Linked DNA regions of Homo sapiens: regions 1, 2, 3, 4, 5 and 6 are each linked to region 7. Evidence: promoter capture Hi-C in 16 types of primary human blood cells and fetal thymus (Javierre and others, 2016). All regions are on one chromosome and are shown on one strand. Each heading gives the region's core, a stretch centred on a gene start or on the middle of the fragment in contact. The rest is flanking DNA. Distances are from core to core; before and after follow the strand shown. Region 1 has its middle 23 kb from the start of BFSP2-AS1. Region 2 holds the start of CDV3 (CDV3 homolog). Region 3 overlaps TOPBP1 (DNA topoisomerase II binding protein 1). Region 4 overlaps TOPBP1 (DNA topoisomerase II binding protein 1). Region 5 overlaps TOPBP1 (DNA topoisomerase II binding protein 1). Region 6 has its middle 20 kb from the start of CDV3. Region 7 holds the start of ACAD11 (acyl-CoA dehydrogenase family member 11).

Evidence for each region. The method cuts DNA at HindIII sites, captures the fragments that hold promoters and counts their contacts. A CHiCAGO score of 5 or more calls a contact.
Region 1: a fragment that was not itself captured here is called in contact with the fragment with the promoter of ACAD11 in region 7 in 1 of 17 cell types (M1 macrophages); the score reaches 5.2 in M1 macrophages.
Region 2: the fragment with the promoter of CDV3 here is called in contact with the fragment with the promoter of ACAD11 in region 7 in 13 of 17 cell types (total CD8 T cells, naive CD4 T cells, naive CD8 T cells and 10 more); the score reaches 15.1 in total CD8 T cells.
Region 3: a contact is called between a fragment that was not itself captured here and the fragment with the promoter of ACAD11 in region 7, in 6 of 17 cell types (naive CD8 T cells, total CD8 T cells, neutrophils and 3 more). The highest score is 6.2, in naive CD8 T cells.
Region 4: a contact is called between a fragment that was not itself captured here and the fragment with the promoter of ACAD11 in region 7, in 5 of 17 cell types (total B cells, total CD4 T cells, M1 macrophages and 2 more). The highest score is 7.8, in total B cells.
Region 5: a fragment that was not itself captured here is called in contact with the fragment with the promoter of ACAD11 in region 7 in 4 of 17 cell types (M1 macrophages, total B cells, erythroblasts and 1 more); the score reaches 7.7 in M1 macrophages.
Region 6: a contact is called between a fragment that was not itself captured here and the fragment with the promoter of ACAD11 in region 7, in 8 of 17 cell types (non-activated CD4 T cells, naive CD8 T cells, activated CD4 T cells and 5 more). The highest score is 9.1, in non-activated CD4 T cells.

What each region holds. Positions count from the first base shown.
Region 1 is chr3:133,512,244-133,516,184 of GRCh38, reverse strand. No RefSeq gene overlaps it. Among named protein-coding and RNA genes, the nearest start is that of BFSP2-AS1, 23 kb to the right of the region's middle. The HindIII fragment of the contact is 7,656 bases long and covers 1-3,941 here.
Region 2 is chr3:133,571,343-133,574,935 of GRCh38, reverse strand. CDV3 (CDV3 homolog) reads right to left here and starts at 1,250. Exons shown (of 5, transcript NM_017548.5): 1 at 652-1,250. The coding sequence starts at 891. RefSeq lists silencers at 282-671, 702-811, 832-1,371 and enhancers at 1,752-1,921, 1,578-2,079, 2,022-2,261. The HindIII fragment of the contact is 11,859 bases long and covers 1-3,593 here.
Region 3 is chr3:133,630,561-133,634,372 of GRCh38, reverse strand. All of the region lies in intron 14 of TOPBP1 (DNA topoisomerase II binding protein 1), which reads left to right. Among named protein-coding and RNA genes, the nearest start is that of TOPBP1, 29 kb to the left of the region's middle. The HindIII fragment of the contact is 5,525 bases long and covers 1-3,812 here.
Region 4 is chr3:133,646,858-133,650,861 of GRCh38, reverse strand. TOPBP1 (DNA topoisomerase II binding protein 1) reads left to right here. Exons shown (of 28, transcript NM_007027.4): 9 at 919-1,082; 10 at 1,229-1,479. Among named protein-coding and RNA genes, the nearest start is that of TOPBP1, 13 kb to the left of the region's middle. The HindIII fragment of the contact is 3,674 bases long and covers 588-4,004 here.
Region 5 is chr3:133,612,723-133,616,791 of GRCh38, reverse strand. The region is part of intron 23 of TOPBP1 (DNA topoisomerase II binding protein 1); the gene reads left to right. Among named protein-coding and RNA genes, the nearest start is that of CDV3, 41 kb to the right of the region's middle. The HindIII fragment of the contact is 1,009 bases long and covers 2,082-3,090 here.
Region 6 is chr3:133,591,984-133,595,852 of GRCh38, reverse strand. No RefSeq gene overlaps it. Among named protein-coding and RNA genes, the nearest start is that of CDV3, 20 kb to the right of the region's middle. The HindIII fragment of the contact is 4,028 bases long and covers 402-3,869 here.
Region 7 is chr3:132,658,056-132,661,702 of GRCh38, reverse strand. It overlaps ACAD11 (acyl-CoA dehydrogenase family member 11), which reads left to right and starts at 1,894. Exons shown (of 20, transcript NM_032169.5): 1 at 1,894-2,100. The coding sequence starts at 1,952. It overlaps UBA5 (ubiquitin like modifier activating enzyme 5), which reads right to left and starts at 1,374. Exons shown (of 12, transcript NM_024818.6): 1 at 1,005-1,374. The coding sequence starts at 1,165. All of the region lies in intron 26 of NPHP3-ACAD11 (NPHP3-ACAD11 readthrough (NMD candidate)), which reads left to right. RefSeq lists enhancers at 779-1,058, 1,429-1,518, 1,054-1,592. The HindIII fragment of the contact is 2,892 bases long and covers 489-3,380 here.

The sequences.
Region 1 (3,941 bases), core at 1,250-3,749, 850 kb before region 7:
GGAGGCACAACAGCAGAGTTTAAGGGACGACCTGCCTTGCTCAGGAGTGTGGTAATGCAAGCGGGAGTAGGATTAACTGGGGCCCCACCACTCTTTCTGAATGACCACTTAATGTCCTTCTGTAGGTATTCGTAAAAGGGGGTGCAGATAGTAGGGTAAGAGTTATGGATAGCATTTAGAAATTACCATCCACGGGCAAGGAGCTTCAGAAGTTTAGGACTTAGTTTTTAGCAGTCCAAACACCTACTCACATACCTACTCCCTAACTCATTCATCCAACCCATGTTTATTGAGTGTCTGCCAGGCTGGGCGCTGTGCTGGGTGCTGCTCTCATGGTGCCTGCGTTCTCATTCTTATAAATAGTAGAAGAAAATTTTAAACCCACAGAGTTGAATAAGAATCTTTAAATAGTAGTCCAGTGATTTCCCCATTCATTGATTTACCATCCTTCTGACTTACTCAGTAATATCTGCTTAGCTCCTATTAGGTATGAGGTGATGTTTCAGACATTAGGAGAAGGGGCTTGAATGGGACATTATCATGTCATCTGAGGGCACAAGTATAATAATAAGACAAATAACGCCCATGGGCCCAAGGGAAGTGATGGCAGTATAACTGTGATAGTAGGGTGTGAATGTGGTAGTCCAGGGTGCCTGTGGAAGTGAGTGGAGGGGTAATACAATGTGACTGTGGTACATAAGGTGAATGTGGTGGCGTAGGATGACTGTGGTAGTACAGGGAGATTGCAGTAGTGAGTGAATGGTAGTACAATGTGAGGCAGTAGTACTGGTGACTGTGATAGCATAAGGTGAATGTGGTAGTCTAGTTGACTGGGGTAGTCCAGGATGAATGTGGTAACATAGGGTGACTGGCAGCACAGGGTGAGTGTGGTAGCATTGGGTGATGGCTGTGGTAGCATAGCATGAAGGTAGTCATATAGGGTGATTGTGGTAGTATGTTGTGAATATGGTAGTATAGGATGAATTTGGTAGTTTTGGGTCTTGGGCAGAAAATGGCTTACTTTTCCTGAAAGTGAGTGAGGGCTTCTCCAAGCAGGGGGCATTTGTGCTCAGACTTGAAGGATACACTTGGGGTATAAGAGGAGCAACGTGGGTCCTAGTCAAATGTGAGCTAGTTTAATAAAAGAAGGAGGTTTGGGCACATACCAAGGTTTCCTGGAACCAGGCAATAGGGTCTCCTGAGGCCTGGGACCCGGAGCTGGACAGAATCTGGAAAGGAAGGCAGAGCTTTCCTCTGACTCCTCAAAGCTGTGACATCTATCTCTCCTCTGCCTGCGTGTCAGGTTCCTGCCTCTCCTGTAGAGCAGACTTCTAGACTTCCCTACCCCTGTGGAGGAAAGGCCCACTTGCAGATCTTGAGCTGGCCCGTCTATGAGTGAAGCAACCAGCAGAAACTGACTCATTCATTTTAGGATCAAATCCACATTCTTGGGAGAAAAAATTCGGACTGACCCTCTGGAGTCAGGTGTCCACCTGTTAATCATGCTTCTCCAGAGCACCAGTAGGATATAGGTACATAGGTAGGTAGGAGTTAGATAGAGATCTATGAGACGGGATTTATGAGGGAATTTGCTTATGTCATCACAAGGCTGAGTAGTCCCACGGTATGCCATCTGTGAGCTGGTGAACCAAAGAAACTGATAGCATGGCTTCGTCTAAAGTCAGAGGCTGAGAACAAGGAGACCCGATGGTGTAACTCTCAGTCAGAGGCTGAAGGCCTGAGAACCTGGGGAGCTGCTGGTATAAGGCCTGGAGTCCAAAGGCCAGAGAACCTAGAGTTCTGATGTCCAAGGGCAGGAGAAGATGGGTGTCCCACCTCCAGAAGAGAGAGAGCAAATTGTCCTTCCTCTGCCTTTTTTTTCTATTTGGGCCCTCAACCAACTGGTTGGTGCTTGCACATTGGGTGAGGGCTGATCTTCCTTACTCAGTCTACTGATTCAAGTGCCAGTCTTTTCCAGAAATATTCTTACAGACAGATCCAGAAATAATGCTTTATTGGCTATCTGGGTATCCCTTAATCCAGTCACATTAACACCTAAAACTAATCATCAAAAGTTCACACCTTGTCAACTTGGCACACTTACCCATCTTTTTTTTTTTTTGAGATGGAGTCTTGCTCTGTCACCTAGGGTGGAGTATAGTGCCATGATCTCAGCTTACTGCAACCTCTGCCTCCTGGGTTCAAGCTATTCTTCTGCCTCAGCCTTCTGAGTAGCTGGGACTACAGGCATGCACCACCACGACCGGCTAATTTTTGTATTTTTAGTAGAGACAGAGTTTCACCACACTGGCCAGGTGGTCTCAAACTCCTGCCTCGTGATCCGCCCCCCTTGGCCTCCCAATGTGCTGGGATTACAGGCGTGAGCCACCACGCCCAGCCACATTTACCCATCTTCTTAAAGCCATAGTTCCACCTAACATGATACAACTATCCTACACGCAATAAAAGTGCACCAGTTCCTTCCCCAGAAGAGGAGGTAAAGTCTTTGAGTGATGTTTACTCTTCTCCCGATATCCCATAAGTTAAATAATGTAAAATTAACGATACTTAACTGCTGATATAAAGTCAATATATTTTATGTTACCTGATACAATAATAAGAGAGGAAATAAAATAAATATGTCTGGGCCCCAGGCCACAGGAGACCCTATTGCCTGGTTCCAGGAAACCCTGGTATGTGCCCAAACCTCCTCCTTTTGTTAAACTAGCTCACATTTGACAAAAGAGGGAGGAAATACTCATGGCAATTACGGCTCTCATTTCTGTAACTGGTCATAGGGTCTTAGATGGTATTTATAACTATCATCTTCTACCATCCATCCTGTATTCTCTTTGCTTCTAGCAAGCAGTTCGGCTTGATTCTTTACCTAATGTGATGACTCAAAACTTATTCCTGAAGGCTCTGGGCCATTCATAGTCCTGGCTAGATTGGGTTATCATAGTTCCCCATTGACCTTAACCACAGGGCATGGTAATATTAAGAGATGGCCCAAGGAATTGCCTGTATTTCAGAAATACTTACCTCCTTACCTCCATTGTGGAGTAGTAGTCCAATTTCTCCTTGGTAGTCCAGATCAATCACTCCAGCCAACACCATAACTCCCCTGACTCAGAGGTGTGCGGAGCCCAAAGTGGCTAGGTGCGAGTCTCAACTTCCAGTTCAATGGAATCATTGTTGTGTCTGCTAGTGAAAGCATTCTTCCCTCTGGAAATAAGACCTCTATGGCAGCCGGGCATAAAGCCATGGGAAAAGGAAGCAACAATTGTGCTAGTAGGTCATTAGGGGTCATGGTGTGTGGTGCCACTCCCATTTCCACCCCTTGATTCCTGGACCTCTACATCCTGGCAATGGGAGAAACAGTACCGTGTATTAGATGCTGATTCAGAGCTTATACAGTCTTCTGGAGAATCTTGCCCCTACGAAGTATTATCACCTATCATACTATAACCGTGTCTTCAAAAGGCCATCCCATCATTCTATCAAGCCAGCTGCTTCAGGATGGTAGGGAACATGGAAAGACCAGTGAATTCCAGGAGCATGAGCCCATTGCTGTACTTTGGCTGTGAAGTGTGTTCCTTGGTCAAAAGCAATGCTGTATGGAATACCATGATGGTAGATAAGACATTCTTTAAGTCTACAGGTGGTAGTTACAGCAGAAGAATTATGTGCAGAGAAGGTAAAAATCCATATCCAGGCTGGGTGCCATGGCTCACACCTGTAATCCCAGCACTTTGGGAGGCTAAGGCAGGAGGATCACGTGAGGTCAGGAGTTTGAGACCAGCCTGGCCAACATGGCAAAACCCCATCTCTACTAAAAATAAAAAATTAGCCAGGCATGGTGGTGTATGTCTGTAATCCTAGCTACTTGGGAGGCTGAGGCATGAGAATCATTTGAACCCAGGAGGCAGACCTTGCAGTGA
Region 2 (3,593 bases), core at 1-2,500, 910 kb before region 7:
AGTATGTACTTGTCTTCTGGTCAAAGCCCTTGCTTCGTTCTGGGGCAAACTAGGCTAAATGGAGGACAAACATGCTCGTAGGCTAACACTATACTTCCGCTGGGTTCCTGCATGGGAGCTGTTACTTTAAGCAACTAAGAAAAGCCGAAGGAAGAAGTCAATAGGAATTTCACAACTACATTTCTACTTCAACCTTGCCACCGAGAGTTTTCTTTTTCTTTCACGGGCTTAGAGACTAAGTCATCACAAAAGAGCTGCTACAAATGCGGCTGCTGAAAGCGAAAATTCAGCTCAAACTACTGGGCTGAGGTCAGCACACGGAATTACTCAGCCTAGACGTCACCCGATAAACGCTGCTCTGTGCTGGGCACTGCGGCCCCAGACCTAGTGCCCCCGGAGGGTGGCGCCGCCCGGGCCTTGGCTAACGCCGAGCGACGCGGGGTGGGAAGGGCGGCTCCACCGCGGATATCGGAAGGGGTCCCGGCCCTGGCGAGCCCAGCCCGAGGTGGAGAGCCTGCGTCACGTGGCGGCCCGCGCCCGTCCGCCCGGCCTCCGCGGCCCCTCCCGGACGCTTCCCCGGCAGGCGGGGGCGGGCACATGGGGCGCCGGCGCGCGGCCCGGGCCCCGAGTGCCGGCCTCCCGGCCCCTCACCTTCGTCACAGCCTTGGTGGCGGCCCCTGGGCCCGCAGCCCCCGCGCTGGCGGTCCCGCCGTCACCCGGCCGGGTCCCCGCGCCCGCCCCGCCGCCCGCCGCACCCGCGGCTCCACTGCTTCCGCCGGCGCTGCCCGCTGCGCCCGCGGCACTCGCCGCCCGGTTGCTCCGCTCCTTCTTCTTCTTCTTGTCCCTCTTGGCAAAGAAGTTGTCCAGGCTCCGCTCCTCCGTCTCAGCCATGGCCTCGGCCTCCTCGACCCGGATGGGTGGGGCCGGCGGCGGGCGCGGCCCGCGGGGCTCCGAGCTCGGGGTCGAGGCCGGCTCTGCGCTCACGCTGCCGGGCGCGGCGACGCCTCAGCCCCGCGGGGTCGCCGAGGCGTGCGCGGCGAGACGGGCGGCTCCCCCTGCGTGCTGGCGAGCGGTGGTACGGTCCGCCCGGGGGCTCGCGCGCCGCCGCTGTCGCCCGAGGCTGCCGGGGCTGCCGCTGCTGCTGCGACGGCGGAGCAGGATTCCGCTCTCCCCACAACCTGAGGGGAAAAGGCACGCGCGAGCCAGAGGTTCTGGCGAGAGTGCTCGGCTAGCAGCGGCGCGTGCCGGAGGAAGAGGCGCGCGCGCAGGCCTGGAGAGGAGGGGAAGGGAGTGGGGAGGGGAGGGAGAGGGAGGAGGGAGGGCGGGCCGCTAGAAGAGAGAGGAAGCGCCTGCGCCTGCGTATTTTGCTCTGCCTGCCGCTGTGGGATCGCCAAGGGGCGGGCGGCGGGAGGAGATGGAGGCGGAGCTGGAAAGAGAGCCAATCAGGTGCCAGGACGAAGCTCTTAGGTGACAATCCCTGACCCAGACGGGGCGGAGTCCAAGCATGGGGGCGGGGAGAGGAGGGCATATGCAAAATAAGTGACGTGCCGGGCGACTCCGGTTTCCCGATTGGCCGAGGGTTTAGTCTTGAGGGCGGGCATGTTGAGGGCTGGTTGATGACTTGGCTAAAGAGGTCCAGCAGGAGGGGCAGTGGGTTCCTTTTGGACGCATGCGCAGGATGCACGTGTGTTTCCTGGCCCAGAACAAACCGTGGCCCCATAGTAGTCGTTTGAACTGTCGCGAAACGGACAGGCACTGCGTTAAGCCAACTGTGTTAAAGATTGTTCCTCTCCTCTGATCGCTTCTGTACTTCCACCCCCTCTGGAGTGGCAACCATTACTTTTCTTCTTTACCGGTTGATTGTGAAAGTGAGAGGAGCAGTGAGCCTGAAGTTTAGGTCCCATTTACTAAAAGATCTTTCATAGGCTGGTTGGTAGGTAGAAAGGGATTTTGTCTGAACTCCACCCTCTGGATTATGTTTACCAAGGTCAAGTTCAATAAATCCTATCGTCAAGTCCCTAATCTGTAAAGTGGGTATACTATTTCTTACAAGATAGGGGGATGGAGGGAAGAGAGTCAACATTATTAGCTGCTCAGCACATTGCTTAACGCCCTGACTTGAGTCTAGATGATGATACAGTTTATCCTTAGCTTCTATCCCTGATAAAAGGAGGGGACTGTCTTATCATAGGGGTGGAGACCAAAATGCCCAGGCGAAAGCCAGGTTTAAATGGGTTTAAAGCCCATTTAAATACCCTTGGGGCCTTGAAAATGAAATGAATTCTATATGCAAAAGGTGGTCTAAAGTAAGCTCTTAAACTTTCTACTTCCTCCTTCTAAAAGCAGAAGAGGGAGCTGTCACAACCATTGAGGAAATGACTCAGACAAATGTTGGTAGCCATATGGGGTAGATAGAATCCAGCCAGTAAATGGAGAGACTTCTTCGTCTTTTCCTTTACAGTTACCCCATTAAAGTTTCTCTTTTCCTACCCCCTACTTACACTGCTATTAAAGAATTAACTTCTGGCTGGGCGCGGTGGCTCACGCCTGTAATCCCAGCACTTCAGGAGGCCGAGGCAGGCGCATCACCTGAGGTCAGGAGTTCGAGACCAGCCTCACCAAAATAATGAAACCCCGTCTCTACTAAAAACACGAAAATTAGCCGGGCGTAGTGGCTAACGCCTGTAATCCCAGCTACAGGTTGAGGCTGGAGAATTGCTTGAACCCGGGGGTGCGGAGGTTGCAGTAAGCCGAGATCGCCTCATTGCAATCCAGCCTGGGCAACAACAGTGAAACTCCGTCTCAAAAAAAAAAAAAAAGTCTAACTTCTGAATGTCAAAAGAAATCAAGGACCTAGCCTTGGCCAGCAAGTAGCTTGAGCTTATACATATACTATTCCCCAAACATGAACAGCTCCCAAGGTGACTTCCTTCTATGACAACATATATCTTCCTGTGATGCAGGCCAGGTTCAGTACTGCCCATCACCATCACCCTCCCTTACCATCGCTAATCAAATTTATTTTCTTTCTTTTTTTTCTTTCCTTCTTTTTTCTCCCTTCCTCTTTTCTTTCCTTCTTTTCTTCCTCCCCCCTCTTTCTTCCTTCCTCCCTCCCTCTCTTTCATTTATTTATTTATTTATTTACTTACTTATTTTTTGAGGCAAAGTCTTGCTCTTGTCACCAGGCTGGAGTGCAATGGCATGTCAGCTCGCTGCAACCTCTGCCTCCCAGGATCAAGCGATTCTCCTGCCTTAGCCTCCTGAGTAGCTGGGATTACAGGCACCCGCCACCACACCCAGCTAATTTTTGTATTTTTAGTAGAGACGGGGTTTCACCATGTTGGCCAGGCTGGTCTCAAACTCCTGACCCTCGTGATCCACCCACCTCAGCCTCCCAAAGTGCTGGAATTACAGGTGTGAGCCACCATGCCCGGCCCTCTCCCTCTCTTTCTTTCCTCATCTATGAAGCACTTATTTTGCTATATTTCGGGCAAAGTGCTTTATTCAAAAGTGAGTAATTTGTGATTCCTGCATTCAATTCCCTTATAATCTAGAAGAGAAGATCTAGATATAAATAAGTTTCAGTTATTTAT
Region 3 (3,812 bases), core at 1,033-3,532, 970 kb before region 7:
CATGCCCGGCTAATTTTTGTATTTTTAGTAGAGATGGGGTTTTGCCATGTTGGCCAGGCTGACCTTGAACTCCTGATATCAAGTGATCTGCCTGCCTTGGCCTCTGAAAGTGCTGGGATTACAGGCATGAGCCACAACACCTGGCCTTTTCTTTTATCTTTGAACTCAAATAGTTTCACGAGGATGTCTAGATGTTAAGAATTCTCAATCATTTGAAATCAGTTTTCCACAATACATGGTAGGTTTTAAAATTTGATTCTTTTCAAATTTTTGGTCTGAGAGATGAGAAGAATGGAGTTGCCAGTCCAAACTGAGTTGAACAGAACAGGTTGGGATTGGAGCCTAAAGATCTAGAGTTCACATGTTAGACACATTAAGTTTGAGATGCCTATTAGATATCCAAGTAGTTGTTAAATAGGCAGTTGCAAATAACGCTGGAAGTTTGAGGAATGGTTTGGGCTGGAGATAAAAATTTGGGGTTCTGAGTTTGTAGGTAATGTGTAAAGCCATGTGAGAATAGATGCCAAGAGAGTAGGAGAAGGCAAAGAAAGGAAAAAGGTTTTGTTTTGTTTTGTTGTGTTTAAGACAAGGTCTCGCTGTGTCGTCCAGGCTGGAGTGTAGTGGCATGATCACAGCCCATTATAGCCTTGACCTCTGGACTCAAGCAATACTTCCACCTCTGCCTTCAAAGCAACTAGGACTTCAGGTGCATGTCACCACACCTGGCTAATTTTTAATTTTTTTGTAGATACGGGGATCTTACCACATTGCTCAGACTGGCCTTAAATTCCTGGACTTGAGCAATCCTCCTGCCTTGGCCTCCCAAAGTGTTGGGGTTATAGGTGTGAGCCACCACGTCCAGCCAAAGAAAAGAGCTCTAAGCAACACCTTGAGGTGCTCACCTTTAGAGGAGGAACCAGCAAAGGAGACTGAGAAGGAGCTATAAGAGAAGAGGAAAGCCTAGAGCTTATTTCAAAGAGCCAAGTATTTCAAAGAGGGAGGAGGGGTTAACTATGTCCAGGACTGCTCTAAGATAAAGAAAGGTGAGAATAGAAAATTGGCCAGTGGATTGAGCATTATGAAGGTCAATGGCGTCATCATAACAATAAGGGTTTTGGTGGCATGATGGAGGTGGAAGCTGGTGTGGGTTCATAAAGAAATGAGAAGAATCGGAGACATTGAGTGTAAACAACGATTTTTGAAGGAATCTTGCCATAAAGGGGAGCCAAGAAATGGAGTTGTAGTTATGGGGCAAAGTAGGGTCAAAAGAAGGTTGTTTTCTTTTTAAGGTGGAAGAAATAGCCAGGCTCAGTGGTGCATGCCCATAATCCCAGCACTTTGGGAGCCCAAGACGGGAGGATCACTTGAGTCCAGGATTTCAAGACAAATCTGGGCAACATGGCAAGACCCTGTCTCTACAAAATACACAAAAATTAGCTGGGTGTGGTGGTGCACGTCTGTAGCCCCAGCTAGTTGGTAGGCGGAGGCAGGAGGATTGCTTGAGTCCAGGAGATAGAGGACGCAGTGGGCAGTGATCATGCCGCTGTACTCCAGCCTGGGTGACAAACTGAGACCCTGTCTCAAAAAAAGAAGAAGAAATAACTATATGCCAGTGTAACTGCCATTAGAGAGCCAATTGATGATGCAGATGAGAGAAGGAAGACTTGCAGGAGGCTTGAGTCTGAGAGGCATTGGGATCTACTTCTTAAGTAGAGGAAGGTACTAGTGGCACGTGTGCTGAAGGCAGATAGATGTGGTATGGGAGCTTCTGATTTTTATATAAGGAATCCTCTAAAATGCTTTGAAGAAATTTTAAAAAGTTTAGCATATAGAAAGACTTACCATGTTCTTGCAAAATAGATTTAAACATTGTCAAGATCTATAAAGGTGTATTAATCTGTTTGCACATTGCTATAAAGAACTACCCCAGACCGAGTAATTTATTCTTATTTTTATTTTTTTATTTTGAGATGGAGTCTTGCTCTTGTCACCCAGGCTGAAGTGCGGTGGCATGATCTCGGCTCACTGCAACCTCCGCCTCCTGGGTTCAAGCAATTCTGCTGCCTCAGCTTCCCAAGTAACTGGGATTACAGGCGCCTACCCCCACACCCGGCTAATTTTTGTATTTTCAGTAGAGACGGGGTTTCACTGTGTTGGGCAGGCTGGTCTCAAACTCCTGACCTCAAGTGATCCACCCACCTCAGCCTCCCAAAATGCTGGGATTACAGGCGCGAGCCACCACGTCCAACTTTATAAAGAAAAGAGGTTTAATTGACTCAGTTCCACAGGCTGTACAGGAAGCACCACTGGGGAGGCCTCAGGAAAATTACAATCACGGTCGAAAATGAAGGGGAAGTGAGCACGTCTTTCATGGCTGGAGAAGGAGGAAAAGATAGCGGGGGGAGATGCCACACACTTTTAAACAACTGGATATCAGCCAGGCGCAGTGGCTCACGCCTGTAATCCCAGCACTTTGGGAGGCCAAGGTGGGTGGATCACCTGAGGTCAGGAGTTCAAGACCAGCCTGGCCAATATGGCGAAACCCCATCTCTACTAAAAATATAAAAATGAGCCGGGTGTGATGGCATATGCCTGTAATCCCAGCTACTCGAGAGACTGAGGCAAGAGAATCACTTGAACCAGGAGGCAGAGATTGCATTGCACCAAGGTCGCGCCACAGCCCGGGCAACAGAGTGAGACTCCATCTCAAACCAGATATCATGAGAACTCACTCATTATCACAAGAACAGCAAGGGGGAAATCCGCCCCCATAATCCAGTCAACTGCCACCAGGCTCCTCCTCCATCATTGGGGATTACAGTTCAACATGAGATTTGAGTGGGGACACAAATCCAAACCATATCAAAAGGTAATGTAGGTCCTAGAAAAAAATGCAAGCAGAAACAATATTAAAAAAAATCTGAAAAGTATAATTGCAGGTAGGCAGTAGCCCTACCGTTTATTAAAACCTCCTATAAAGTTGCAGTAGTTAAAACAGTGTGGTGTCACGTGAATAATCAAGTTAGTGTATAAGATTATACTCCACAAATAGGGGAATTTATTATGTAATAAAGGTGGCATTCAAATTGGACAATTAGGTAGCCATCTGAAAATACGTTTGTAATTAAAGCTCACACTTTACATCAGAATACTTTTTAGATGATCAACTTTTGGGGTTTTTCTTGAAATAGGATCTCACTTTATCACTTAGGCTGGAGTTCAGTGGCATCATCGTGGCTCACTGCAGCTTTGACCTCCTGGGCTCAAGCAGTCCTCCCACCTCAGCCTCTGGAGTAACTCAGACTAGAGGTACATGACACTGTGCCCAGCTAATTGTATTTTTTGGAGAGGTAGAGTCTCACCATGTTGCTCAGGCTGGTCTAGAACTCCTGGGCTCAGGCAGTTCTGCCTTGGCCTCCCAAAGTGTTGGAATTACAAGCGTGAACAACCACACCCAGCCTAGATGATCAGATTTAAACATAAGAAATGAAGCCATAAAAATTCCCAAACATGTCATGAATTTGTTTCTAAAATAATCCTAGTGTGGGGAAGGCCTAACTATAACATACACTCCAAAAGAAATAGAAGATTCGTATGAATTTGACAGCATTAAAAATTCTCTAACTGGGTGTGATGGCACATACCTATAGTCCCAGCTGACAAGGGAGGATTGCTTGAGCCCTGGAGGCAGAGGTTGCAGTGAACTAAGATTGAGCCACTTCAGTCCGTTCTGGGCAAGAGAGCAAGACCCCGTCTCAAAAAACAAAAAAATTACAGCGAGTCACCGTGACTCACACCTGTAATCCCAGCAC
Region 4 (4,004 bases), core at 1,175-3,674, 990 kb before region 7:
GTTGGGATTACAGGCATGAGCCACCACACCTGGCTCAGAGGTGTTTTGTATGATGTTTTATCCTAGACTACTAATTCTAGATATAGCTTTTAATTATTTCTTACATATAGAAAGTATATGATTCCAAATATTTGTTAAAATATATTCTAGTAATGGGGGTGATTTAATTTGGGGTATAAATGCAGTTTGGAGTAGATTTGTCATACTTAAATTTTTTTAAGGGCACCTTATGTAAAATAGAGGTAAAATGATTTTATATTGATTAAATTGGTTTAAATATATATATACTGATAGCTAAAAATAAATTACTGCATACATGTTATCCTCAAAGCATTGTGTTCAGTTCTTTGACTTATATATATTTTTTGTTCAGTCAACTCTGTGAGTAAGGTAACATCAATTTATAGGTAAGAAAATTGATTTAAAGAGCGTAAGCAACTTGCCTATTGTCGTTAATCATAGGCAGCTGGAAAAAACAACCCCTCCCCCCGCCCCCCACACACACACAATTTAAGCCCAGGTGTTCAGAATTCAGACAGTTAACTACAGTTTACTTTTATAATTACTTTAAAATTTACAAGTAAGCTTCACAGTTAAAGAAGTTACCTGCATTTTAGGAATTGGTATGCACTAATATTTAGAAGATGTTGGACTCTGGCTTCTATTTTCTTTATAGCCACAAAATACTTATCAAGTATCTACTGTGAAAGATAATGCTGTATGAGATTGTAAAGAGTGATTAAAAACTCAAAGTTGCAGAACTGTTAAAAAATCAAAAGTTTCAGAATGTATTTATTCATATATCTTAAATGTACACAAGTTGTCTTATTTATACACAGTGGATTTAGATATATATTTTTAGTTTTTTTCTATTGAGAGAAAGCATGTTATGTATATTAAATATTTTCTTTCTTGCAGATATATCTTTGCGGTTTTAGTGGCAGAAAGCTAGATAAACTGAGAAGACTTATTAACAGTGGAGGTGGAGTTCGTTTTAACCAGCTAAATGAAGATGTAACTCATGTTATTGTGGGAGATTATGATGATGAATTGAAGCAGTTTTGGAATAAATCAGCCCACAGGTTTTTTTCGTTTTTAATTCAAAGCAATTTCTACTACATAATTTTTCTTAAAATTGCATATCCACGCAGTTCTGGAAACTGCATGACAAGTGGGATGATGGTCTTTATAGCTTGCACTAATACATAACTATGTGCTATTTTTGTAGGCCTCATGTAGTGGGAGCAAAGTGGTTGCTAGAGTGTTTCAGTAAAGGTTATATGCTTTCTGAAGAACCATATATCCATGCTAATTACCAGCCAGTGGAAATTCCAGTTTCACATAAGCCTGAAAGTAAAGCAGCTCTTTTAAAAAAGAAGAACAGCAGCTTCTCTAAGAAAGACTTTGCTCCTAGTGAAAAGCATGAGCAAGCTGATGAAGATCTGCTCTCTCAATATGAAAATGGTAGCTCCACAGTAGGTAAGAAATGCTTGATTAGTATTTGTAGTTAGTAAGAAATATTTTAGTAGCCTAATACGTACATATGTGATTTCTGCCAAGTTTTCTAGATTTTAAGTTAAATTAACCTTTTTCTTTCCTTAAAATTTTCCTCATAACTTTTTTTCTGAGCAGGCAAGACAAGAGGGTCCTGAACCCTTTAACCCTCTCTCCTGTCTCCAGCTAACTAGCTCTATTTTGATTTGTTATATATACAGGCATTGCTTGGTTTGTGTGTGAGTTTGTAATATCATGAGCCTTTTATTAAAACCTTGTAACAAATACCTCTTACTGGATTATTGTGGTCTTTAATGCATGAAACTGTACTGTGGACTACCACCTCAGTATGTACTCTTATCATGTAGTAAGGTAAATTGCCAGTGAAGCATTATAAACATCATTACTTCTTTTTTATTAAAAAAAAGCCTTTATAAAATACCTAATATAGCCAAAAATATATACATTTAAGTAAATTTAATGTGTATCATAACTTAAAATCTGAAGTTAATCAGAATTTTAATCTACCTCGAATAAAACAAGAACCTTAGAAAACTTTTTTTTTTTTTGAAGCAGGATTTCGCTCTTGTTGCGCAGGCTGGAGTGTAGTGGCATGATCTCAGCTCACTGCAACCTCTGCCTCCCAGGTTCAAGTGATTCTTTCTGCCTCAGCCTCCCAAGTAGCTGGGATTACAGGCATGCGCCACCACCCCTGGCTAATTTTGTATTTTTAGTAGAGATGGGGTTTCTCAGTGTTGGCCAGGCTGGTCTTGAACTCCCGACCTCAGGTGATCCACCCGCCTTGGCCTCCCAAAGTGCTGGGATTACGGGCGTGAGCCACTGAGCCCAGCCTAAAATACTTTAATGATCACAACTAGCCCTGCTCCCTCTCTCCACTCATCAACATACTCAGCTTATGTGATTTTGTCTAGTATTTTCATTATCTTTTAACATCTTACAATTAGGCGTTATTATGCTTTTATATGGTCAGTATTTGTTTCATTTACTAACACGTTTAACTGTTTCTTTGCTCTCCCCAGTTCTTTTTACATCTGAGACCTCTCTTTTGGAATCATTTTCTTTCTTCCTAAAACAATATCCTTTAGAAACTCCTTTAGTTTCTCTAAGACTCTTCGGCTGGGTATACAGTTCTAGACAGTTTCTTTAAGCACAGAGATATTGTTTCATTGTCATCTATTTCCCTGACTGCTGGATAGGAGGTCAGATATCAGTCTGTCATTCCTTTACAGATAATCTGTCTTTATCCTCTGGCTGTTTTTAAGATAGTCTTCCTTTTGGTTTTTGTGTCCTAGAGCTTTACCATTTATTTGTCCTGCTTGAGATTCACTGTGCCTTCTGAATCTGAGAATTAGTAGATTTTTTGCTTTTTGTTAGGTCAAGAAATGTTTATTATCTCTTTGAATATTGCCTCTCCCCCATTCTCTATATTCTCTTAACTCCCATTTGCTTTGCATATAGGTCACTTAACCTGTCCTTATCTTCCATCTTTTTGTCTTTCTGTGATTTATTATGTGTAATTCCTTCAGATTTTTTTCCAGATCACGAATCATCTCTTCCGCTATTGCCTAATCTGTTTTACCCATCCATTAAATTTTCTGTTTTAATAATTAATTTTTCAATTCCTAGAAGTTTTAGCTTTTTAAATAGTCTGTCATTTATTTTTTTACTTTTAAAAATAGAGATGGGGTGCTACTATGTTACCCAGGCTGGTCTTGAAGCACCTCAGCCTCCCAAAGTGCTGGGATTGCAGGTGTGAGCCACCACACCCAGCCAAGTCTGTCATTTTGTATTTGTATTTTTTGTTCTTTATTTCTTAAAACACATTAAACCTATCAAAACATCTGTGAATTGTTCTGTTGGCTGTTGTTTATGGTGCCTGGTTTTCTTGTGTTTTGTGATTTTTATTGTGAACTTGTACTTACTAGGACTCTAGGAATTCTAAGAAACTTGGGGTAGGGGTTTGTTACCCCAGAAAAGGTTCATGTTTGGGTCTGCTAGGTGCCTAGGAGTTTACAAACTCAATATGCCTTTAAGTTGGTGTATTGGCTGGAGGTTTCTTAGACCTCCAGCTATATGAATTTATACCCAAACCTACTTTGAGGACCAGCCTCTGATGAACAGATTCTTAGGAGAGATGTTGTTTCCCCTTGACACAAAGCCAGTGTTCTTGACCTCTTCCTTTACAGGGCAGATTTGTTGTTGGTTGGTTGGTTAGTTTTGGTCTGTTTACTAAAGATATGTCTCTTCATGGGTTCTGGGCTTGTTCTCTCAGGGTATACTCTCCTTCACCTCTAAGTTTTATGAAACCAAAGGATTGGCTCCTATCTCTTGTGTGATACCTTTACATTCCAAGGGTCTGGGTTACTGCACAGATATTTAATAGATTTTGACTAACCATTAGCTTTAGTAACTACTTAATGTTCTGGATTTAGTAACCACTTTAGTGGTCTGGATTTTAATATTTTATCCTGTATTTTGAAGTGTTTTTA
Region 5 (4,069 bases), core at 1,337-3,836, 950 kb before region 7:
CAAAATGTCCCATATAATAACCATATTTGGAAGTCAAATGTAGTCAATATTAATATCATTTGTAAAGTCTAGAAGTAGAGGAAAAGAACATGGGTAACTTGTCTAAGGCTATACATTGAGTCAGCATTGGAACTTTGATTTTAAAAAGCTCTAAAGTCAGTAGATCATGGGATTTAAAATTCAAATGGAATCTAGCAGTTGAGGTTTAAGAATCTTCTGTGCTGTTTGACTATTCATTCACTAATGAAGCTTTAAAGACTTACTATATAAATAAAACCACATTTTAATGAACTTGAAAGGTTAATAATATCTAGAGAGGAGCTCCCTCTTGTTTTTTTGTTTGTTTGTTTCCAGTTAGAAACAGTGTGGAGGCCAGGCACGGTGGCTCGTGCCTGTAATCTCAGCACTTTGGGAGGCTGAGGTGGGCGGATCACCTGGGGTCAGGAGTTTAAGACTAGGCTGGCCAACATGGTGAAACCCTGTCTCTACTAAAAATACAAAAAAATTTGCGAGACGTAGAGGCACATGCCTGTGATCCTAGTTACTCAGGAGGCTGAGGCAAGAGAATCGCTTGAACCTGGGAGGCGGAGGTTGCAATGAGCCAAGATAGCGCCACTGTACTCCAGGCTGGGTGACAAAGCAAGACTCTGTCTCAAAAAAAAAAAAAAAGGGAAAAGAAAGAATTCAGTGTGGAAGAGAGCTCCTTCTTATGTAACATTATTCTTATTCCACTGGTTGTCAGGCTCTCCACCTGACATCATTCTAGAAGCAGCATAGTAAAAGAGCAATCTGGTATACTAGAGCAGCACTGTCCAATAGAAACAGAATGTGAACCACATAGGTCATTTTAAATTCTCTAGTAGCTGCATTTTAAAAACTAAAAAGAGGCTGGGTGCATTGGCTCACACCTGTAATCCCAGACTTTGGGGGGCTGAGGTAGGAGGATTGCTTGAGCCTAGGAATTCAAGACCAGCCTGGCAACATAGTGAGACCCCATCTCAAAAATAAAAAGTAAAATGAAACAAGTGAAATGAACTTTAAACATATATTTATCATTCAATATGTGATCAGATAAAATATCAGTGAGTTTTTTTTTATATAAAGTAAAAATCTAGTGTTTATTTAACTTACAGCACATCTCAATTTGGACTAACTGTGCTTCAGGTGTTTGATAGCCACAGATGTCTAGTGGCTACTCTGTTGAACAAAGCTCTATAGAGTTAGGAAAACTATAGTAAGAGAAGTTAATCTGGCAGCTCAGCATGGAAAGAGAAAACATTAAGAAATATTGGTGGGGTTTTTTTGTTTTTGTTTTGAGACAGAGTCTTGCTCTGTCTCCCAGGCTTGAGTGCCATGGCACAATCTCAGCTCACTGCAACCTCTGCCTCCTGGGCTCAAGCAATTCTTCTGCCTCAGCTTCCCAAGTAACTGGGATTACAGGTGTGCGCCACCACGCCTGGCTAATTTTGTATTTTTGTATTTTTAGTAAAGACAGGGTTTCACCATGTTGGCCAGGCTGGTCTCGAACTGCTGACCTCAGATGATCCACCTACCTTGGCCTCCCAAAGTGCTGGGATTACAGGCATGAGCCACCGCACCTGGCCAAAATAATGGTTCTTAATAGTGGCCCTGAAGTATCAGGAAAAGATTAAATGTTATTTAATGCTGTCTTTTTAAGAATGTGGAAAACTATGATATGCTTTAAAAAAAAAAAAAAGATTTATGTCAAATACAGTTGTATACTTGGAAAAACTTTCTCTTTTTTTTGCGGGTGAAGCTCACAGCTTTATTTTTTTTTATTTTTTTATTATTATTATTATACTCTAAGTTCTAAGGTACATGTGCACAACCTACAGGTTTGTTACATTTGTATCCATGTGCCATGTTGGTGTGCTGCTCCCATTAACTTGTCATTTTCATTAGGTATATCTCCTAATGCTATCCCTCCCCCCTCCCCCCACCCCAGGACAGGCCCCGGTGTGGAAAAACTGTTTCTTCTTAGAAACTTTACTCATACAAAACACTTTGTTTCCCAGTTCCCTGATAACTTAGGTGAGGTTATAAGTCAGAATTGCTAAGCTTTACCCAGAACTCATGAAAATGAAAGGCTTCAAGTGTCAGTCTCCTATAGATTTTTCCATCTCTGCAAACTTTGGGGAAGAGTGACAGCAATTAGCAGAGAATTGATCTAGAAGAGGGCAGGAAGCAGAGGCAGATGAGTACAGATTATGTTGGAATTCAGAGTCTTGTAACTCTAGAGGTTTTCCAATATTAGAATGCAAAGAGACATTATAATAGATATTATGCCCAATCCTTCATTTTATAAATGAAGCAACTGTGGCCAACTGATATATATGTATATAAATCAGTCTATTATGTTGTCTGGGTCGCAGAATAAGTTTGTTATGTAGAATTGGAAATTGATGTTTATATATTAATATGGAATTTTACCTTCTTGTCTTTTTGTCACTCTGTGATCCTGAGTAAGGTGCTCTACCAGTTTTCATGTGCATAAATGCAGATAATAATAGTAACCTTCCTTCATATGGTTGTGAGAATTAAATGAGTTAGTAATCTGGAGCACTTTAAGTAGTTCCTGGCATAAAATAAATGCTCAGAAGGTGTTGCTGCTATTATTATTAGAGTCATCTTAAATCATGAGTTTGAATGTTTTGTTAAAATCTTAGAAAGTCCTTGATATGACCGGGTGTGGTGGCTCACACCTGTAATCCCAGAACTTTGAGAGGCTGAGGTGGGCAGATCATGAGGTCAGGAGTTCAAGACCAGCCTGGCAAACATGGTGAAACCCCGTCTCTACTAAAAATACAAAAATTAGCCAGGTGTGGTGGCGGGCACCTGTAATCCCAGCTACTCAGAAGGCTGAGGCAGAGAATTGCTTGAACCCGGGAAGCAGAGGTTGCAGTGAGTCGAGATCGCGCCACTGCACTCCTGCACTCCAGCCTGGGTGACAGAGTGAGACTCCGTCTCAAAAAAAAAAAAAAAAAAAGTCCTTGATATAACTAACTCTGCCCAACCAGTGGTCAAGTTAACCTCTAAGCTATAAATCAACAGCCATGCTTTACATAAGCTTATGTTTACTTATGCCTTCTTCTTTCCTCAAAGTCAGGCTTCATGCATTTATATCTGAGAAGAGGTTCAATTATTGCTTTTTCCCACCTGCTGCTTCATCTCTTATTTATCTGTGTGTGTTTTCTTCCCAAGCTTCTCTGTTGGTCTGCCGACATTATTTCCACTCATAAAAAATTTCCTCCTGTTTTAAAGTCTGCAGATGCCCCTATCTTACTTCCATCTCCCTGGTTACCCATATTCGGTGCTTGAAAACTGCTTTTGTAATTGAGACTTAAGAGACATAACCAACTACAGCGTGTGGCTCATGTTTATGTTCTATTTCTTTTTGTATCCTAATTATAACAATCCAAGTGAAGACAAACAGGAAAAATTGAACAAGGATTTAGTACTGAGACAGCAAAGAATCTTTGTTAATCCTATTAGATCTGATAATGGCATTATGGCTGTTTAAGAAAATTTCCATATATTCTAGAGATGCATACTGAAATACTTAGGGGTCAGTAACATGGTATCTAGAATTTGCTTTAAAATAGTTAAGCAGGACCAGGCATGGTGGCTCACGCCTGTAATCCCAGCACTTCGGGAGGCTGAGGCAGGTGGATCATTTGAGGTCAGGAGTTCAAGACCAGCCTGGCCAACATGGTGAAACCCTGTGTTTACTAAAAATACAAAAATTAGCCAGGCCATAGTGGTGTGTGCCTGTAATCCCAGCTACTTGCGAGGCTGAGGGAGGAGAATCGCTTGAGCTGGAGGTTGTGGTGAGCCAAGATCATGCCACTGCACTCCAGTCTGGGTGACAGAGTGAGAACCTGTCTCAAAAAAATTAAAATTAAAACAGAATAAAATTAAGTAGTTAAGCAAAAAAAGGTGGCAGAATTTGGATAATTTTAGAATATAGGTAGCTAGTATATGTGTGGGGGTTCATTTTACTATTTTATTTACTTTTGTATTTAAAATGTTCATAATAAACATTTTAATA
Region 6 (3,869 bases), core at 1,166-3,665, 930 kb before region 7:
TGTCAGGACAGAACAAAAGAATATAATGGGAGCTTGCAACCTCCTCTTCACTCCCATTACCATGGTGCCACTGAGGTTGGGAGTCCCTGACTTCCCTGTTTAATTCAGGTTCTAATTAAAGACATACATTTGAACTGTAAAATCAGAGAAATCCAATAAGGAAGCCATAGTAGTCCCAGCAATTTATAATAAAACCAAAGACAAACCTAAGAGATTCCAGTCTGTGCCCACACCTCATTATGAAAAGATGCTTAAGTATAACCCACATGATCTTTAAAAGGCAGGAACTGGTGAGTAAGGTGAGTCACAGACCCAGAGTGTGTAGGTGGTACAAGCTACACTTGGCCTGAGGTTCTGATTCTTAAATAGATGAGCTATATGATTCTGCGGCTGCCAAAGCTTATCTCTGGTAAGGTTAATTATGGTTGAATTCATAGTCACCAGGAAGAATAGCAGAATTCTAAAGAAACTCTTAAAACCCAGAGGTGCTATAACTGAGCAACATAATGAAAGGGCAAATTTAAAGTGGCCAGGGGTAGTGTAAGGCAGATTAACATTTACAGTGAGTAAACTCAGGAATGGTCAGATCTGCTGTCAAAAGACAAGTCAAACATCATGGAAGTATTGTTGGAGAAGGATAACGAGTAGCTACAGAAGTTACATTGATGATGAGGCAGTTATCTAAGAAATGACAGATAAGATATTAAAAATGGTCTTTATATACTGATAACTACTGAACTACAAAAATGTGTAGTTTTGTAAAAAATCAAAGAAATTTACTATTTCAGTTGACAAGTCTTTCCCTCCAACTTCAGTATCCACTTTCCCTCATTTAACAGTATCCAAAAATGCATTTAGGAATATGATAATCATTTCTGGTCTAAGCATGCAATTTAAGGGATTTCCTGCTTGAGCTAGCCCTATGGTTGTCTTCCAACTGCCTACTAGGGAAATAATTTATCATTTTTTGACATAACCCAGTGGTTCCCAGATTTTGCTGCACATTAGAACTATGGGACTTGAAAAAACATTCCTCTGCTCGGGTCACACTCCATACTAATTAATTCAGAATGTCTGGATGTGGGAGTCGGGCATCACTTTTTTTTTTTTTGAGACGGAGTCTTGATCTGTAGCCCAGGCTGGAGTGCAATGGTACCATCTCGGCTCACTGCAAGCTCCGCCTCCCGGGTTCGAGTGATTCTCCTGCCTCAGCCTCCTGAGTAGCTGGGACTACAGGCGTCCACCACCGTGCCCGGCTAATTTTTGTATTTTTAGTAGAGATGGGGTTTCACTGTGTTGGCCAGGCTGGTCTTGAACTCCTGACCTCAGGTGATCCGCCCACCTCGGCCTCCTAAAGTGCAGGGATTACAGGCGTGAGCCACCGCACCCAGCGAGTTTTTTTTTTTTTTTTTTTTTTTTAATGATTCCCAGGTTATTCCAAAATGCAGCAGTTTGAGAACCATGGACATAATCTTACAGAGTTGCTCCACTTCTTATGATTAAAATTGCGAAGGCTGGGTGCTACTCTCCATCATATTTGGAGATGAACCATTTTACAGAGGTTTCTTGGGGCATGCTTTGACTGGATCCCTGAACAGTTAGGTTGAGGGATTAAAAAGACTTTTAAAGTGGATGACTTAAATCCTACCCATCGTCTGTATTACTATATCCAATTATTTAGAATTCTAGTTCCCACTTGGGCTGCAAATTCAAAAGAATTGAACTGCCTTAATGATTACTTTTATGTATATCCTAAATTCCTGATGTGAACATAATTCCTATTTTAGATAATACAAATAAGATTATTTAAAGCAATTATTTCTAAGGCCAGGTGTGATGGCTCACACCTGTAATCCCAGCAATTTGGGAGGCCGAGGTGGGCAGATTACTTGAGGTCAGAAGTTCAAGACCAGCCTGGACAACATGGGGAAACCCTGTCTCCACTAATACAAAAAAAAAAAAAAAAAATTAGCCGGGCGTGGTGGCATGCGCCTGTAATCCCAGCTACTGGGGAGCCTGAGGCATAAGAATTGTTTGAACCTGGGAGGCAGAGGTTGTGGTGAGCTGGGATCGTGTCACTGCACTCCAGCCTGGGTGACAGAGTGAAACTGTGTCAAAAAGATAAAATAAGCAATTATTTCTTACTCAATATATCACTCATAATATTCATTATCTTTATTTCAAGCCCAGGAGAAGCAATTCATAACTTGCCTGCATTCTGCAGGCCCCATTAGTACCTAGTTGTAGTAACTGGTGAATTAAAACCATTACAAACCTGCAGTTTCAGGATGCTAGTTATTAGAACACCTGTCCATATGACTTTCTAACTTCTTGGCTCTCCTTCTGATCTGACTACCTCCATTAATTTGTTTGCACTCCCTAACTTGAAATCGTGACCTCATTTGTTCCTTTGTCAGTCTAGACACCCATAGCATGACCTGTCCTAAATTCCTACCCCACACTCTTAACCTCCTGACATCTCCACCTACGTGTACCTACCCCAGACCAATTTCACATTCTAACAGAGGGAGATAAACAACCAAAATGTTTAGTGTGCTAAATAAAGAGTAAGAACTACAAGCCAGGCATGGTGGTTCACACCTGTAATCCCAGCACTTCGCGAGGCTGAGGTAGGAGGATAACCTGAGCTCAGGAGTTTTGAGATTAGCTTGGGCAACATAGCAAGACCTCATCTCTACTAAAAATAAAAAAAGTTAGCTGGGTGTGGTGGCACGCATTTTAGTCCCAGCTACTTGAGAGGCTGAGGCGGGGAGGATCATTTGAGCCCAGGCCAAGGCTGCGGTGAACTATGATCACACTACTGCACTCCAGCCTGGGTGATGCTGTCTCAAAAACAACCACCAAAAAATCCCCCAAAAACTATGAGTCTTGGTGCTGAGCAACTGGTAGTCACATGCAGAAGAATGAAGCTGGAGCCCTAAGTCACAATAAAAAAAATTAAAATAGACCAAAGACCTAAATGAAAGAGCTAAAAACATAAAACTCTTAGAAGAAAATAGGCATAAATCTTTATGACTTGGGTTAGGCAATGTTTTCTTAGATATAACACCCAAGCACAAGCAACTAAAGAATAGAAAAGGTGGACTTCATCAAAATTGAAAATTTTGTACTCCAAAAGACACTTCTAAGAAAGGGAAAAATGGTAGGAGAAAATGTTTACAATTCATGTATCTGACAAAGAAGTAGCACCTGAAATTTAAAACACTTGCAACTCAACAATAAAATTATAAGTAAACCAATTTAGAAATTGGCAGAGGATTTGAATACACATTTTTCCAAAGACATACAGATGGCCAGTAAGCACATTTAAAGATGCTCAACATCACTAGTCATTATAGGAATGCAAAATAAAACCATAATGAGATACTTCACACCCACTCGGAAGACTAGAACCAATCTGAAACAAGTGATCACAAGGATATTGGAGAAACTGGAATCCTCTGACACTGCTGGTGGGAATAGTAATATATAATATGGTGAGGCTACTTTAGAAGAGTTTGGCAGTTCCTCAAAGTGATACAGCCTTTCATCTCTAAGTATATACCCAAGAGAATTGGAAATGTTGATACAAAAACTTGTACATGAAAGTTCATAGCAACATCATTCATAATAATGAAACAACCCCAATGTCCAACAGATGAATGTACAATTTAAACGTGGTATACCCATACAATTACCTATATTGTTTAGCAATAAAAACGAAGCACTGATACATGCTAAGCCTCAAAAACATGCTCAAAAACAAGTGTAGAAGCCAGTCTCTGAAAAACAAATTGTATAACCCTGTTTATATGAAATGACCAGAATGAGAAAATCTAGGCCGGGCACGGTGGCTCATGCAGCTGTAA
Region 7 (3,647 bases), core at 645-3,144:
ATGAGAATTTTACATTAAGACAAATCTAATGCAAGACAGGCCTTATTATTTACTACCAAGGCATGAACCTGAGGTGGCTCTCTAAGCCTCAATTTTCTCACTTATATAATGGGGGTAAAATAGTAGCAATCTCATAGGGTTTTGGTGGGAGGAGACAATGCATGTAAAGTGCTTACACAGTGAAAGCTCAATAACTGCTTGCTACTAAATGCACCTAGCAATAAAATCTTGTATAAGGCTTGCCATGTACAAGCGCTACTCTAAGACCTTTATACATACTGATTTTTTCAATCCCCACAACTATGACAGAGATAGATATTACTATTATCTTCATTGTACAGGTGAGAAGCTGAAGCGGAAAGTTTCACAACTTGCCAAAGGTTAGGCAGTTACGAAGAGAGTAGTTAGATTTGAATTGCAATCAGTCTGGCGGTAGAGTCCTTACCCTTAACCATTGCACTATATTCCATCTGCTGAATTGATAAGCTTTGTTAGGAAAGAAGAAAAGAGAGGCCTGGGCAGTCTTGGTAATGTCGAATGGTTTGAGATGTTAAGGAGCACCCGAATATCTCAGAATAGAGCTAACCCCGCTCTCCCCCGCCCCGACCCCATTTAAGATGCATTGATAAGCCTTTAATGAAACTCAAAGTTTACCTTAGCAGGTTTAATATTTGATCTCATCTTCTGAAAGTTCTTACTATCAGTCTTATACACAGCGAGGCGGACTAATTAAGAGGCAAGGGTGATAGGAAACTGGACACACGTCCTCAGCAGGCACAGGAGCAGCACCATATGGCTGACTCACTGGAGGTTTTTAAAAAAGAGAAAGAATATCTTCCGATCAGTACTAAGATGTGGCCTTGCCCATTTGGGAACAGGATTCGCAGACCAAGAAAAGGGTGGCGGGCGTCCCCATGAGCGGGACGTGGGAAGCGCCTCACTTCTGACCTCACGGAGCCTGACCTCGTCCCCCGCGCCTGCCTCCGACCGGCGACGCAGGTTACCTGTAGGGATTCGAATCCACCACCTCTGAGCTCATCTTCTCGATGCGGACCCGGCCGCCCCCTCCGTCGCCGCTCCTCGGGACCTGCAGACTCCTCTCCTGGGCAAGTTCCCGCTCCAGCTCCTGGACCCGCTGCTGCAGGCGCTCCACAGACTCCGCCATGGCTGGGACTCCGGCCGCCAACGCTCCCAGCCCGGGCCTTCGCCGCCGCCTTCGCCCCACGTTGCTCGGCTGGGCCCGCGAGGGGTACGTGGGGAGGCACCTCGCCGCTGCCTTCCTAGCCCAGAGCCCTGGGGACGTGCACCCAGCGCCTCACAGACAGACACGTCTCCGAGACTCCCACAGGCCTTCCTCGGAGCCGCTTCCGGTGCGTCGCAGACATCGCTCCCCCTCATCAAAAACCTGGCTCTTTCGGCTTCCTTCCTCGCTGGGCCGGCTAAACCCGGCCGCAGCAGCACCGGGGTGATAAGTGTCCAGGGCAGGAGGCCAGCGATGTTGCCTTGCTAACCGGGTATCTAAGAGAAACAGGGTCTTTTTATTCTTAGGCTCGACAGTCTGACGGCCCTTTTTCTGAACGGGACCCTGCAGGTCTTCCGCCTGCTGTTGCATTAAATTTGGGGGTGGAAGAGGCTTCTGCGTTGTTCCTTACCCGCAACGATGACCATGGCTTTGCCTTCTTTAAAATTGAGGCCTCCAACTCTGACGCTGACTGGAGAATTGAAACCCGAACACACATTGGGCTCTTTTGGCACTTGACTAGAGCTAAAACCTCGGGATTCAGCGGGCAAGCGTTGCTCAGCAACGGCGCGTAGGCTGTGTGCGGTTGGCTGGAGCCAGACCCCACCCCGGCCTCGGCCCATGCTCTAGAGGGGACGTTGCCCCAATCCTGAAGGACTTCGGCACTCGAGACCTGTGGATGCCGCGTTGCTGTGGCCTGCGGGGGTGATCATGAAGCCAGGTGCTACTGGCGAGTCCGATTTGGCCGAAGTGCTGCCCCAGCACAAGTTCGACAGCAAGTCCCTGGAGGCCTACCTAAACCAGCACTTGTCTGGCTTTGGGGCCGAACGTGAGGCTACGCTGACCATTGCCCAGTACAGGTATGGATGTCAGCCTTTGCCTCCAGCGGAAAAAAATTTGTACATTGAGTTTTCCTTCCTTTGGCCCTGGGTGGTTTCCTAAGTTTCTCCCACCCTGATTGCTTTTCCTGCAGTCAGTGGACGCACCCTACAGGCATGAGCTGCTATTGCCGGCCCTCCGAATTCGATGCTGGGGGCTTCCCAATTGGAGGGCGGTAATGGAAGCGCAATAACGTTCACCATTCTACTATCCAAAGGAATCTTTGTTAAAGGATGGATTTATGTCCCTTGAGGATTCACCAAGGCAATTAAGGCTACAAATTCTGAGAAATAGATGCCTTCTTTTGTGATACAGCCATTAGATCTTTTTCTGAGAAGCTGGTGTAATTCCGTTTGATTGGCCGTATTCCGGGAGGCTGAGTTAATGACACCAGATGGAGGATCCGAATTCGAGTACTAGCTTTTCCACTTAGGAGGTCACAGCACCACTTTGGGCCTCAGGTTTTTTGAAGTGAGGTAATGGAACTGAGTGAGAGGATCCTGAGAGTAGCGTTCCCCACCGGGAATCTGGCTTTAGTCTGATGTTTTACAATAGATAATACATTCTTAAAACTTTATTCTAAAAATAACATTGTTACTAATACAGGGCTACAGAAAGAGTCCTATCATTCAGAAAACTGGATCTGTCACTTGCTGTCTGGGAGTTTAAATATGTTACATAAACACTCTGAGAACTAGTTTCCTAAGTTGTAATACCTATTTTGATTAGTCTTATTAATGAAATGAAATACCGTAATATAGGTGAAAGGGCGTAAAAATTGCAACAACATAGTGTGCTAGTGGTATTTTATCACTAGCATTTATATTCTTTGACTACTGATTTTGGTGAAAATGAAAATAATAATAAATGAGATGGATCAGGGAACATTTTAGGGTGTAGAATTTAAAGGTCCCATGTCCCAATAGATATTGGAAGATGAAGGGAAAGGTGGAATAAAGAATAGCTGAGATTTCTAGGCTAGAAGCCTTGTGTTGTAACAAACTGAAACAGATCAAAGTTCAAATTTCAACTATTTCAATTGCTGTGGAATTTGGACAAGTTACCCTTTGAACATCTAGTCCTGCTTTGGCAAAAAGGAGATAGTAACGTTCATATTGTAGGAGTGTTGAAGAGGTACATAACTGAAAGATACTTAATTCTGAACCAAGCTGAATGTTAAACCATAACCGTGTTCAAAAAATGAAATTAGTTGTAAATTAGTTGTGGTATAAAAATTGCTTCCAGAAATGTTGTATAAGCTTGGTTTAATAAATATATATGGAACTCTGGATCCCACAGAGAACACACATTCATTTCTAGGACACATGAAAAAGTTTATAAAAATTGAAAACACATAGGCCATGAAGGAAGTCTCAGAAACTCAAAAGAATCAATCTTTATATTTTGAAAATGTGTGTTTTGGCCAGGTGCAGTGACTCACACTTGTAATCCCAGCACTTTGGGAGGCCGAGGCACGTGGATCACTTGAGGTCAGGAGTTCAAGACCAGCCTGGCCAACATGGTGAAA